5 separate regions of the Homo sapiens genome follow, and all the other regions are linked to region 4. The links are contacts of gene promoters, found by promoter capture Hi-C in blood cells and fetal thymus (Javierre and others, 2016). All regions are on one chromosome and are shown on one strand. The core of a region is centred on a gene start or on the middle of the fragment in contact, and the rest is flanking DNA. Distances in the headings are between cores, read along the strand shown.

What was found. Contacts are between HindIII fragments. The CHiCAGO score rates a contact against its expected background, and 5 or more counts as called.
Region 1: a fragment that was not itself captured here is called in contact with the fragment with the promoter of UBQLN1 in region 4 in 1 of 17 cell types (neutrophils); the score reaches 8.7 in neutrophils.
Region 2: a contact is called between a fragment that was not itself captured here and the fragment with the promoter of UBQLN1 in region 4, in 1 of 17 cell types (monocytes). The highest score is 5.3, in monocytes.
Region 3: a fragment that was not itself captured here is called in contact with the fragment with the promoter of UBQLN1 in region 4 in 2 of 17 cell types (total B cells and neutrophils); the score reaches 6.4 in total B cells.
Region 5: a contact is called between a fragment that was not itself captured here and the fragment with the promoter of UBQLN1 in region 4, in 3 of 17 cell types (total B cells, monocytes and neutrophils). The highest score is 5.9, in total B cells.

Annotation. Positions count from the first base shown.
Region 1 is chr9:84,329,271-84,331,970 of GRCh38, forward strand. All of the region lies in intron 1 of SLC28A3 (solute carrier family 28 member 3), which reads right to left. Among named protein-coding and RNA genes, the nearest start is that of SLC28A3, 10 kb to the right of the region's middle. The HindIII fragment of the contact is 1,958 bases long and covers 430-2,387 here.
Region 2 is chr9:84,306,634-84,309,333 of GRCh38, forward strand. All of the region lies in intron 3 of SLC28A3 (solute carrier family 28 member 3), which reads right to left. Among named protein-coding and RNA genes, the nearest start is that of SLC28A3-AS1, 30 kb to the left of the region's middle. The HindIII fragment of the contact is 2,118 bases long and covers 387-2,504 here.
Region 3 is chr9:84,286,803-84,289,502 of GRCh38, forward strand. SLC28A3 (solute carrier family 28 member 3) reads right to left here. Exons shown (of 18, transcript NM_001199633.2): 12 at 1,246-1,376. All of the region lies in intron 1 of SLC28A3-AS1 (SLC28A3 regulatory antisense RNA 1), which reads left to right. Among named protein-coding and RNA genes, the nearest start is that of SLC28A3-AS1, 10 kb to the left of the region's middle. The HindIII fragment of the contact is 4,681 bases long and covers 1-2,700 here.
Region 4 is chr9:83,706,603-83,709,302 of GRCh38, forward strand. UBQLN1 (ubiquilin 1) reads right to left here and starts at 1,356. Exons shown (of 11, transcript NM_013438.5): 1 at 898-1,356. The coding sequence starts at 1,077. It overlaps UBQLN1-AS1 (UBQLN1 antisense RNA 1), which reads left to right and starts at 1,233. Exons shown (of 2, transcript NR_135839.1): 1 at 1,233-1,710. RefSeq lists enhancers at 379-1,269, 1,037-1,106, 1,270-2,158. The HindIII fragment of the contact is 7,028 bases long and covers 1-2,700 here.
Region 5 is chr9:84,266,340-84,269,039 of GRCh38, forward strand. No RefSeq gene overlaps it. Among named protein-coding and RNA genes, the nearest start is that of SLC28A3-AS1, 10 kb to the right of the region's middle. The HindIII fragment of the contact is 6,591 bases long and covers 1-2,700 here.

The DNA of each region.
Region 1 (2,700 bases), core at 159-2,658, 620 kb after region 4:
CTGGATATTTCATTACCCCATCTTCAGTAATGACTAGAACTAGAGAGATGGTCAGTAAGAAAATACAAGAATTGAACAGTGGTATATAAACCAACTAGACCTTATAGACATATACAGAACACTCCACCAACAAAAGTAGAATACACATTCTTCTCAAGTGCATGTAGAACATTCTCCAGGCTAGATCACATGTTAGGCCCAAACAAATCTCAATAAATTTAAAAATATTGAAAGATAATGTGTCTTCCCCAACCACAATTTGGGGAAAACTTATAAATTATGAGGAAATTAAGCACACTCCTAAATAACCAATGGATTAAAGAAGAAATCATTAGGGAAGTTAGAAAATAGTTTGATAATAATTAAAATGCAGCCTGGGTGACAGAGTGAGACTCTGTCTTATAAAAAAAAGAGAATTAATAAAAATAAAGCTTAGAGTGAGACTCTGTCTCATGAAAAAAAGAAGAAGAAAGAAAAATAAAGCTGAGCACAGTGATGCATGCCTGTAGTCCCAGCTACTTGGAAGGCTGGGGTGGGTGGATTGCTTGTACCCAGGAGTTTGAGGCCAGCCTAGGCAACATAGCATGGCCCTCATCACAAATAAATAAATAAATAACAAAAATGAAAATATACGAAAATTTATGAATATCGCTAAAGCAGTGCTTACAGGGAATTTTATAATTGTAATTGCTTATATTATCAAGAAGTAAGATCTCAAATCAATAATCCAATCTTCTACTGTAATGAACTAGAAAAAGAACAACAAACTAAATCCAAAGTTAGCAGAAAGAAAGAAATAATGAAGATTATCGTGGAGACAAATGAAATATAGACTAGAAAAACAAAAGAGAGAATCAATGAAACCAAAAGTTGGTTCTTAACTTACTTAAGGGAAAAAAAAAGCTCAAAAAAACTAATAGCAAGTGAAGAGATTGAATTGCTAACCATAAACCTCCCAACAAGGAAATGTCAAGGAAAAAAGAAACCAAGGAAAAAAAAGAGAGAAGACAAATAACTAAATTCATGAATGAAAGAGGAGATATTACTACTGATATTACAGAAATAAATGTAAAGTTGTTACTTTAATTTTTTGGCATAAATCTGGTGGTCAGGTCCTTAAAGAGGAAGGATAACCAGATCTGTGTGTGTGTATGAACTCTAAAACCAAAAACACATGCTTACGTGGGTGATCCAATAGAATAACCATCAGTGGCAAGTGGTTACTGAGTGCTTGAAATGTGACTAATATGACTAAGGACCTGAATTTAATTTTAACTAATTTAAATTTAAATTAAAAACTGAACATTAGATCCATGTATTGAAAAACAGGCATGTTTAGAACAACTTGATTATGAATCTACTTTTTACAAATATACATTTTATGAAATCTAAAAACAGATCAAGTATTTCTGATAAAAATGTAGCATTAGAGTTGACATGTACTATATGTTTAAAATATGCACTGGATGTTCAAAGACTTGGTATGAAACAAATATAAATTATTTCATTAATTTCAATATATGAGGTTCCATAAAATATAGTTAAAATAAGGTGAAGAGTTATACCTACTTTATTTTGCATTTTTAATGGGCTTGCAGAAAAGTTTTAAATTACATATCTGGCTAGTGTTACATATTAGAAAGTTCTGCTTTAGCCCTCAGCAAAAATGTATCTTTATCTACATTATTAATTATTTTCTATTTTCTTTCCAGTGCCTCAACACTGATGAGTAAGTGGCTCCTCAATTTCAAGGGGAATCACTTCAGGAGTGTTTGAATGAGGAAAAACTAAATCCTTATACCCTCTCTCTCTGAGATGCCATGGAAGTGACTTGGTTTACAATCCCCTACACTGTTTTCCCCTAAAAATAAGTCTAGGTGTGATCATGCAAACTTGAGGAAAGAGTAGAGAATATACTTTTCTTTTTTAACCTCCTTCCCAAAAGCGAATTATTGTCATGTGTTTTTGTGTGTGTGTGTTTTAATTGAATATAGGAAGCTCCAGCCGAGCGCCTCTTGAGCAATGTGAAAGAGTACTCAATGTGATTCATATTGACTTCCCAGGCTAGTGGGTTAAGGAGAAACAATATTCTTCTTCCCTACATAACATAGTTACTTCCTACCTTAGAACTTTTGTATTCAAAGTACGTGCTTGACAAGAAGTCTACACCTGTACTCCAGCAGGTTTGGATCCCTGATGGACTTACACTTACATGATCTCCCAAATTGTAAACTCCATTTAACAAACTCTCCAAACCTGCTTGACTGGCTTACTCATGGAGTAACTCAGCCTTTCCTGTGTGTTTGTGCAGAGTGAGGCCCATTTCCCCAGCCTAGTCCTCTCCCAAGACTTTCGTAAGTGAGTTCCACCCAACTAACTTCAGAGCAAGCTTGGGTTCTGTGCCTCTGAGAGCAGCTGTGGTAAGATTGATTGCTTATTCACAGGGAGGAGGAAACTTGAGTTGGGATTCCAAGAGATGCCTTTTAATAAATGTGTTAAAAAACATTCCTGCATTTTCCTCTTAGAAATTCTGAACTGTTTTGACCTCTGTTGCTGTTAACTTCCATCTCTTTGGATTCTTCCCCATCTCCTCTGAGTTTGGAAAAATCTTTCAGTTGCCCTGTTCCAAAAAGCCTCTCCCAAATATGGACACGTGGCAAAATATCTGTGGAGTGGGGAAAAGGTTCTTTTTTAAAGCAA
Region 2 (2,700 bases), core at 196-2,695, 600 kb after region 4:
CACACAAGAGAACTTCTCAGTCCCCCAGGGCCAGAGACCCTGGAGAACAGATGTCTATGAGCCATACAGCACTATGAGTAGAACGTTGGATATTAAGGATGTTCAACAGACATGTATTGATTGATAGATGAATGAAATGGGAGTAAATATTGCTTATCTGAAACAGTATTTTACAGCTCTGAGTTGGGGATGCATTAGCGGGTTATGAAGCCCACATAGTAACCACTATTAAAATAGAAGGAGGCCAGGTGTGGTGGCTCATGCCTGTAATCCTAGCACTTTGAGAGGCCAAAGTAGAAGGATTATTTGAGCCCAGGAGTTTCAGACCAGCCTGGGAAACACAGTGAGACCTTGTCTCTACAAAAAAAAAAAAAAAAAAAAAAAAAAGCTTCGTGTGATGGCACAAACCTGTGGTCCCAGCTGCATGGGAAAATCACTTGAGCCCGAGCGGTCAAGGCTGCAGTGAGCTGTAATTGTGTCACTGCACCCCGTCTCAACCAAAAAAAAAAAAAAAAGGCCAGGCGCGGTGGCTCAAGCCTGTAATCTCAGCACTTTGGGAGGCCAAGGCGGGTGGATCAACTGAGGTCAGGAATTTGAGGCCAGCCTGGCCAACATGGTGAAACCCTGTCTCTACTAAAAATACAAAAATTAGCCGGGTGTGGTGGCACAGGCCTGTAATCCCAGCTACTCGGGAGGCTAAGGCAGGAGAATCGCTTGAATCTAGGAGGCGGAGGTTGCAGTGAGCCAAAATTGCGCCATTGGATTCCAGCCTGGGAGACAGAGCGAGACTCCATCTCAAAAAAAAAAAAAAACAAAAACAAAAACAAAAAGAAAGAATAAAAATATCAAAAGTATCATAGTGTATCATTCATACATAAGAACAATAGGTATCACTTCATGAAATGTTCATCATTATGTATGTGTGTGAATATGTATACTGAGAGTTAGAAACAGTGCTCTCTAGAAAATATTGGGTGAATAAAAGTGTAGTGAAGACATTTTTTCACGGTCTGATTTAGGAAAGGCTAATGATGTATTATTCTCAGTTGAAGATATATTAAGAAGCAGCAGCAGCAGAGGGTGACATTTAATAGGGTACATTCACATACTGTAGGTTGACTCTATCAGGTTCTTTAATTGCAGGGAATGTGTGTAGTCCATTGTGGCAATCTGACTTCTGCATAAAGCAGAGTAGCTGAAAGTAGACACTTTGGTCATTTGGTTATCTAGGCTGAATAATTCCCAACCTCCTGATGGCTGTTTCAGTCTCATTAACATTAGTGAAACCTGAGTACCTCTGACCACCCAAGAGAATTTCTCAGTACCTCCGGGTCAGAGACTCATAAAGTAAAATGAAGGATAAAACTTTGCTATGTTTCTGATATGGTAAATATTTGGGATGATGTATATGTGACAAGAGCTGCCAACCCTAATTCTGGCCAACTCCAGAGATATCTTCTGATACATATAACAAAGTTCCTCCTGTAGTCCCAGCTACTTGCGAGGCTGAGGTGGGAGGATCACCTGAGCCCAGGAGGTCGAGGCTGCAGTGAGCTTGACAGATCTCATGACAGGGCCTTGCTCTGTTGCCCAGGCTGGACAGAATAGATTTAAATTAAAATATATTTCTGGCCGGGCGTGGTGGCTCACACCTGTAATCCTGGCACTTTGGGAGGCTGAGGCAAGCAGACCACCTGAGGTCAGGAGTTCAAGACCAGCCTGGCCAACATGGTGAAACCCTGTCTCTACTAAAAATGCAAAAATTAGCCGGGCACGATGGTGCATGCCTGTAATCCCAGCTACTCGGGAGGCTGAGGCAGGATAATTGCTTGAACCCGGGAGATGGAGGTTTCAGTGAGCTGAGATTGTGCCACTGCACTCCAGCCTGGGCAACAGAGCAAGACTCCATCTCAAAAAAAAAATTTAAAATCTATTTCTAGATTTAAAATTAGCACCACTGAACTCCAGCCTATGCAACAGAGTAAGCCCCTGCCTCTAAAAAAGAAAAAAGAAAAATTTCCTCAGAGACATAGGAATGCAAATCAAATTTAAGTAGGAATATAGAAGATGGACAAATACTGTAGTGTTATGATAGGTGGCAGACAATCCTGGACTAGGAATCAGAAGCTGAAATTGTGACCTAATTCTCTTCCTCTCCTAGTTGACTTGGGGAAGTCACTTCTCTGAGGTTCATTTTTCTGGTCCAAAAAATAAAGATACTAATCTTGCGTCTCCTACCTTACGGAGTTGTAAGAACTTGGAATACTTTGAGGCTATTACAAGGTAAGAGAAACCGTTTGTTGGGATTTAAAGTGGATTGGGTTTTGAGCGATCAATTGCTATTGATTGACATTGAGAAGATGAATTAACTGCATTCGTATGGACTGGAGCAATTATTTGGTAATTTACACTTTTAATTAGAAGACTGTCCTGGGTGAATTTAAATCTGCATATTGGGTTCCCAGAACATCAGCAGTTTGAATTGGCCACATTGATCATCTTAAAGCTTCATTAATTTTTCTGGAAGGGGTGTTGGGTAGGGAGGGTAGATGGATGGGTGGTGACAATCTCTAATAAATTATAATAAGTGTTAAAAATCAAATGGGAGGCCTGGTGCCATGGCTCATGCTTGTAATCCCAACACTTTGGGAGGTCGAGGTGGGTGGATCATTTGAGGTCAGGAGTTCGAGACCAGCCTGG
Region 3 (2,700 bases), core at 112-2,611, 580 kb after region 4:
TCTTTGATCTCATCCTCCCCTCTAATCTCAGAGGTATCTGTCTTCCTGAAATTCACTCATCATCCCCTTTCTATACAGTTTTCCTACATGTCTGTATTCCCTAAAAAATACATTGTGTGTCCGGGTGCAGTGGCTCACACCCTATAATCCCAGCACTTTGGGAAGCCGAGGCAGGTAGATTGCTTGAGCCCAGGAGTTTGAGACCAGTCTGGACAACATGGTGAAATACTGTCGCTACAAAAAGTACAAAAATTAGCTGGGTGTGGTGCTGCGTGCCTGTAGTCCTAGCTACTCAAGGGGCTGAGGTGGGAGGATCACTTGAGCTCAGCCTGGGTGACAGAGTGAGACCCTGTCAAAACAAACAAACAAACAAACAAAAAAACAACATTGTGCAAGTCTGCACACTGAGTAACTTTACAAGTGGAATTACGCTGTATTCTTTGGTAACTTGCTTTTTCGCTCATGGTTGACTTTATCTACATACAAGTATGGGTGAATTTCAGACACATGTTGGTTGCTGATGAATTCTGTTATTTAATGAAATACTCTTGAACACCCTAAATCCCTTAGTCTTTTCCACTCTGTTTTTTTTTCTTTTTCACAGAGCAAAAGAAAAGGAACCAGCTTTCTTATAGGAGGAACCTCCAGAAATGGTCATCCTATGGCTTTCTGTCTAAACCAAGGCTCCATAAACACTCTGCTATATTTATAAAGAAATATCTTTACAACAAACAGATATGGAAATGTATTGACATTAGGTATTTAGAGAGGTTTATGTCAAGTATTAAACAAGATTTTGGCCAGGTCCCAGCACTTTGGGAGGCTGAGGCAGGAGGAGCCCTTGAGCCCAGGAGCTGGAGATCAGCCTGGGCAACATAGTGAGACCCTGTTTCTAAAAAAAATTAGCTGAGAGTGGTGGTGCATGCCTGTAGTATCAGCTACTTAAGAGGCTGAGGTGGGAGGATAACTTGAGCCTGGGATGTTGAGGCTGCAGTGAGCTGTGTTCATACCACTGCACTCCAGCTTGAGTGACAGAGCAACTTTAAAAAAGTCTTTTTTGAGCAAGACTCAAAAAAAGGAAATAAAATAAGACTTTTTTCTGTGAAGTCTAAATAGTCTTTGGACTAACTTTAATATTGTAATTCACTGTGCTTTCCGGTTATCAAATTTTTGCTGTACATTGACTCCTGGAGTCCCCCGCCCCGGCTTGGGTAGTCATTAATTAGGTGAATGTGTCACACTTACCCACTTTCCATTTTCATGGCATTCTTGAGGGTTATTTTAGGTTTTTCTGTCTCAGGCCAAAAGAGTTTAGCAGCAGCCAATGACGCAGGTGCTGACATAACTGACGCTGTTAACAAGTGGGAGGATGGAACCTGCAATTTCAGAAGAAAGAAGGCAAACCTGGGATTAGCTTTTTTCTTGTGTTCAGAGGAAGGGTCCAAGAGCTCCGCAAGGGAAGAAACAGGGCAGGGGTTGTTTCTATTCCAGAAGACAATGTTTCTTTGGAGGTCTGGAAGAGCCACTCTAGCTCATTGAGCCAAGTCGCGGGCATCACCTTGAGAGGCTGAGGGATAAGGGAGACATTTGTGCTAATTGACCACATCCCTGGGGAGAAGCATAAAACCAAAATCTGATCGTTTCAGAAAAGAATTAATCCTGTGTTGTGGAAACTTTCAAGGAAGATTCCTCTACCTCTCTGTTGCCCTTTTGAATGTTCAGAGAGCCCCTAAAGCATGTATGTCATTACAACTTTTTTTTTTTTGAGATGGAGTCTTGCTCCGTCACCCAGGAGTGCAGTGGTGCGATCTTGGCTCCCTGCAACCTCCGCCTCCCTGGTCAAGCGATTCTCCTGCTTCAGCTTCTTGAGTAGCTGGGATTACAGGAGCCCACCACCACACCTAGCTAATTTTTGTATCTTTTAGTAGAGATGGGGTTTCAACCATGTTGGCCAGGCTGGTCTTGAACTCCCAACCTCAGGTGATCTGCCTGCCTTGGTCCCTCAAAGTGCTGGGATTACAGGCATGAGCCACCATGCCCAGCCTCATTACATCATTTTAGATAGGGGATGGGGAGGGGATGGGGAGTGGAGAAGGGACTCATGATTCATGTGCAGATGTGTATATTCTCCTCTCTCCATCTTCCTTTTGCTCTCCTGAGGTCCTTGGTGCCTTTACACAATCTTCATTGATCTGGTGGCCCTTTAATCTGTACACGACTTCTGTTTTCTTTATTGCAGGTCCACTCGTTCCCCTTCCTACCTGCCCTCACATGGTTTCTGGATTCTCTTCCACATATTTTCAGAATTCCAGGATCAACACCTCCCTCCCTGTTCCTGTTCCCCCCAGAACATTTTTGAGGCAGCATTTCTACAGTGGGGATGGCATTCCCCAGATGATCCACTCAAGCTGCTCCACAGGTGTCCTTTGCTCCTTTCTTCTTGCCTCTTCCTACTAATTGGCACTCCGAGGCCTGGATGAAGACCTACAATGAAGCCCACTTATTTTGTAAGAAATCCTAGTCTCCTGAGTCACACAGTGACTGGGCTGTGTTACTCAGTTTCAATATTGGGGACTGTGTCTATGTGTGGCTTGTAAGCTCTATGGGTCGGGGTGCACGCACCAGTTATAACATTCTCTAGCCTTATACTACAGACTGCCAACTCTCAAACTTGGCTGTACATTAGAATCTGAGAGTTTT
Region 4 (2,700 bases), core at 106-2,605:
TAATTATGGAAAACACGACGTATTCAACAATACACTAAAATTATTTGTTAAATTCCACCAAGAATCTTAATTAACTGCAAGATTTGTATTCCTGAACCAAGTTTAAGTAATATTCTGCATTCACTCCGATTTTCTTTTATTTGATTGCAACCGCTAATATCAACATCGCTATCGCCCCTCTAAAATCAAACAAAAACCTACCCAATGATTGGCATCTAAGAGATGATAAACATACTAAAAGGGAAAGAGCAAGTCATCAGTGAAAGAAAGTCATTCACTTTTCTCCTTAAACCTAGTACTATCACTATTACTTAAGATGGAGCTAAAAACAGTTTCTACGTCATAATTTTTTTTTAAAGGTTGCAAGGTGGGAAAGATTTCAGGAGTTAAAATGCAGAACTAAATATACACATGCACCTCACCCCAAAACCCACCTTAACAAGCAGGCACGTAAAACAACGAGGATCCCACCCACCCCTTTTTAATTCATGAAACAAAACCGCAGCCTGAGCTAAAGCGAACCCTCGCCCCCGCCCAGCCTCCACCCCGCCCGGAGGCTGGCGGTGGGTCCCTTTCCTTTGTGAGGAGTTGGAGGGGAGGCGACGGAGGGCGGGGAACTGGGGGAGGAGGCTGAGGGTCGGCGGATACCAGAGAAGGAAGGCTCCGAGAAAAGCGGCATCAGCCCGTCCCACAAACAGGCCGCGCCGCCACGCCACAAACCATTGCGGTGTCCCAAGGCGCAAACCCACGAACTTGGGTGTGATCTAATTTGGGACGACGCCCGGGAGAATGGCCGAGGACGACCCCTCTCCCAGGCCCTTCCAAAAGGTCTCCTGGGGCGGCGGGCGGAGGTCCTGCCGCCACCCCCATCCCGGCCCGAGCCCCAGGCGGCCTCACCTGCTGGACGGAGCTATTCTCGGGCACGGCGAATTCCTCCTTTTCCTTCGGGGTCTTCACGGTGACTTTCATGATTTTGGGCTCCGCGGAGGCAGCGGCCGCGGGGGCGCCAGCACCTTCGGCTCCGGCGGCGCTATCCTGGGAGCCCGGAGGACCGCCGCTTTCACCACTCTCGGCCATGGCTGTGGCGGCGGCGGCGGCGGTGACTCAGGCAAGCAGGAGGGAGCAGGCGAGCAAGGAGGAGCCAGCAGACACCAGAGCCGGCAGGCCTGGACAGCGAAGAATGCAGAGCACGCCGCCTCAGTAGCAACGGGCGCAGGGCCACCGTAGCGGGTGTGGGGCCCCGGAGCTCGGTGCAGGCTCTGGCGCAGGCCCGGGTCAGGCGCTCGGCAGCCGCCGTGTGTTCAGGCGCCGCTCGCTCACACCGACATCCGCAGCAGCCACCGCTTCCTCCTCCCTGCCCCTTCCCCCACGTCCCTTCGCCGGCGCCGCGCGGAGCACGCCGGGTAACGCGCCTGGCGGCGTCGCCGAGTCATCCCCGGCTGGCGCGACTTTGAGCTCAGCCTGCGTGCCTTTTCCTTTCCCGCTCCATTGCCCAAAGTGCAGGCGAAGCCAGTGTGAAGGACTAAAAGCAAAATGGGGCGGGGTAGGTCAGTTCATGGTTTTTTTCCACTCCTTTCACCAAAAACTAAATCGCAGTTTCCAGTTAAGCGCTGTAACGGCGCACCGAGATGACGTCACGGTTAGCGAAATTACTAGAAAGGGACCAGTGGGCCCTGCGGCCGCGGCTGCGCCTGCGCGCTTGCTGTCCAGGTAGTCTCCCCACCTTACCTCATGCCCAGCTGGGCCGTGTTCACCCCTCCGCGCTGTCACAATCGCCTTGCCCTCCCTTGCCTCTCTGTCTACTCTGCGTTCCCCGCTGGGAGGAGGGTCTGGTGATAAAATAGCGGCGAGGTATTTTGTTATTTTAATATGCTTAGCGTTTGATATTTGGAGGGGTCGTATTGCCCTATGCGGGGGAGTTGGGGTAAGTTAATGGTGGAAAGGCCTCAGCACAACGAACAGAAAATGGAGTGAACGCCCGTGACTGCCCTGCGCAATCCTGCGGAGTCATTGCTTCATGGCCAGAGCTTATTTACCGCCCTCGGGTTAGCCCGGTTTGGTCAGACGATCAGTCAGGCAACCTGTATTGACAGTGGCCTCTGCTGCTACGATGACAGCTGTGCGCGAGCGCCCCCAGATTATCTGTGTGTAGGGCGGAACAGGGTGCCCGAGGAGTGTCCACCCAAATGGGACAATTTAATATAGTTGAGGTGTTCGCCTTATATTCTATCAAATTAAGTTACTGGTCAATTTCAGGCTTTAAGTGGCATTAAGGATAGTTCCAAAATTATTTTCAGTGTAATACAGAGAGAAATTATCTCTGAGAATCCTAATTTGAAATGACGTCATTGGCTTTTAAAGATGACTTGCAAGGAATGTACAAACCAGCCCATTATTAATCAATGTTGCACAATTTAAATCCTGACAGCCCACTATGACCCAAATCCGCAAAGATACATTCTGCCTTTCTGCTCCTAAGCCGTCCAACCCTGTTCTGAGAATAAATACTGTTACATAAACACGACTTTTTAGCAGAGCTCTATGGAATCTGGGTCTAAGAGAATCCTGAGGGTATCGATTTCAGTATAGACATCATTTGATATCACCTAAATTTCTGGCAGCATGGCTCAATAACAAGGCCTTCTGCTTAATGAAGGATGACTACTTGGTTATGTCCAGGTGTGAGATGATCACTGCTTC
Region 5 (2,700 bases), core at 59-2,558, 560 kb after region 4:
TTCTAAACCCCAACTTCCACTCTACGGTTTCCTGGTACGAAGCTGTTTGGACTCTGGGAGTTGGTGGCTTGAGAGAAACAGGAAGGGAGGGGAGATTCTGGGACATTAGTATATTCATGGCAGGTGTGTGTAAATTGGAGCTGTCAGTTTGACCAGCAGGAAATAGAAAGTATGAATCTTAGGGGAAGGGAGTGAATCACATTCACAAAGACAGCTTGAAAAATTGGCCAGGAGGCAAATGACAAGTTCTCCACTCTATATGAAATATCAAGATTAAAGGAAAATCAATTATCCTTTACCTTTGAGCGTTTTTGGGGGTTATGGTGAAATTAGGACTAGAGGGAGTAAGCAATGGTAGCCTTTAATTTTTCCTAATATTTTACTATAACAAATTTCAAACATACGGCAAATTCGAAGGAGTTTTATTGTGTAAATTTAGATTCTATCATTAACATTTTACCTGATTTATCACTTATTGTTTATCGTTGTTGTATATTCCTCTATCCTTCTATCGATACACCTTAGTTTTGGAAGTAGTTTTGATTTTAGTATTCTGATTATTCTTTCTTTCTTTCCTGTTTTAGTGTTTATTACCCTCCTTTTGTCTTCATCCACCCAAAACCATCATCTTTAATGATTACAACAAAGAACATGATAATGATAACAAAAATTTGTTAAAGCTACATTTGCTGAACATATACTATATGACAAGCACAGTACTAGCTACTTTTCTTATATTATTATCTCAATATTTTTCAGAATAGGAGGAGATATAATTATCCCTCTTTTGATAATAAGGAAACAGAATCTCAGAGATAAGTGGCTAAACCAGGATTCAAACCCAGTCTTGTCTGGTAATTTGCTTTGGCAAACAAGTTTCAGGGGATTAATGGCCCTAGGAATTTCATTTCAAAGTAGGTTAGTGAACAACTCACTAAAACCACCTTAAACCTATTATGGAGATCATTGATAAAATCATTATCTGCCTTTAGTTTATGTAAAGGAGCCTTTAGTTCAGAGTGGAATGAAAAAGCTAATCTTTGAACCATGATTATCTGTGAACAATCTGGGTATCTGCATTTCTTTGTATGAGAGTGAAGTAGGCAAAATTTTCCGCAGAAACTTATTGAACTCTTCTATGGGCCAAACATTACACATTCATTTAATTCTTTTTTTCTTTTTTTGAGACGGAGTTTCGCTTTTGTTGCCCAGGCTGGAGTGCAATGGTGCGATCTCAGCTCACCGCAACCTCCGCCTCCTGGGTTTGAGCGATTCTCCTGCCTCAGCCTCCCGAGTAGCTGGGATTACAGGCATGCGCCACCACGGCTGGCTAATTTTTGTATTTTTAGTAGAGACGGGGTTTCTCCATGTTGGTCAGGCTGGTCTCGAACTCCCGACCTCAGGTGATCTGTCCGCCTTGGCCTCCCGAAGTGCTGGGATTACAGGCATGAGCCACCATGCTTGGCCTCATTTAATTCTTAAGGCCAGTTCTCTCAGGTAGATATTATAATCTTCATTTTAAAGATCAAACAGTTAATGTTCACTGGAGCAAACAGACAGACCAATAGAACAGAGCAGAAAGTCCACATAATCCCAATACAGGGGACTTAATGATAAAAGGGATGACAGTCATCCCTTGGTATTCCTGGGGGATTGGTTCCAGGAGTCCCCTCAGATACCAAAACCCCAGGAGGCCATAAAATGGCATAGTATTTGCATATAATGTAGGCACATCCTCCGGTAAATCATCTCTAGATTACTTACAATACCTAATACAATGTAAATGCTATGTAAATAGTTGTTGTACTGTATCATTTAGGGAACAATGACAAGAAAAAAAGTCTCTACATGTTCAGTACAGACATAACCATTGCAGGCCTAGCTACATTTTCTATTCAAGGTTGGATCCAAGGATGCAGAACCTATGGTTACTGAGGCCAGCTGTACCAGTATTCAATAAGTGATATTGGGACAACCATCTAGAAAAAAATGTAAAAAAAAAAAAAAAAAAAATCTGAAGCCATATCTCACACCATTTAGGAGGACAAATCCCAAATGGATCAAAGACAAATATGAAAAGTGAAACCACAAAAGTTCTACTAGAAAGGATGAGAAAATTTCTTTATGACTTTAGAGTGGGGATGGCTTTCCTATGACACAAAATCTAGAAGCCATAATAAAAGAGATTGATATATTTAAGTATGGAAATTTTTTTTGTTTGTTTGAGACAGAGTCTTGCTGTGTCTCTCAGGCTAGAGTGCAGTGGTGGGGTCATGTCTCACTGCAACCTCCACCTCTGGGGCTCAAGCCATCCTCCCACCTTAGCCTCCTGAGTAGCTGGCACTACAGGCGCTTGCCACCAAGCCTGGATTTTTTTTTTTTTTTTTTTTTTTGTGGAGATGGGGTTTCACCATGCTGGTCTCCAACTTCTGGACTCAAGCAATCCTCCTGCCTCTGCCTCCCAAAGTGCTAGGATTATAGGTGTGAGCCACTGCTCCTGGCCTAAACAGATAAATTTACTTTACATGTGGAAACTTCTACATGGCAAAAAAGAACTACAAAAAAATAAAAGTACAGATGGCAATATGGAGGAAATATTTGCAATTCATGCCACAGATAAAGTGTTATGCTTCCTAACAGATAAATAGCACCTATTAATGTCTGAGGAAAAGACAACCTTACCAATACAGAAATGAATAA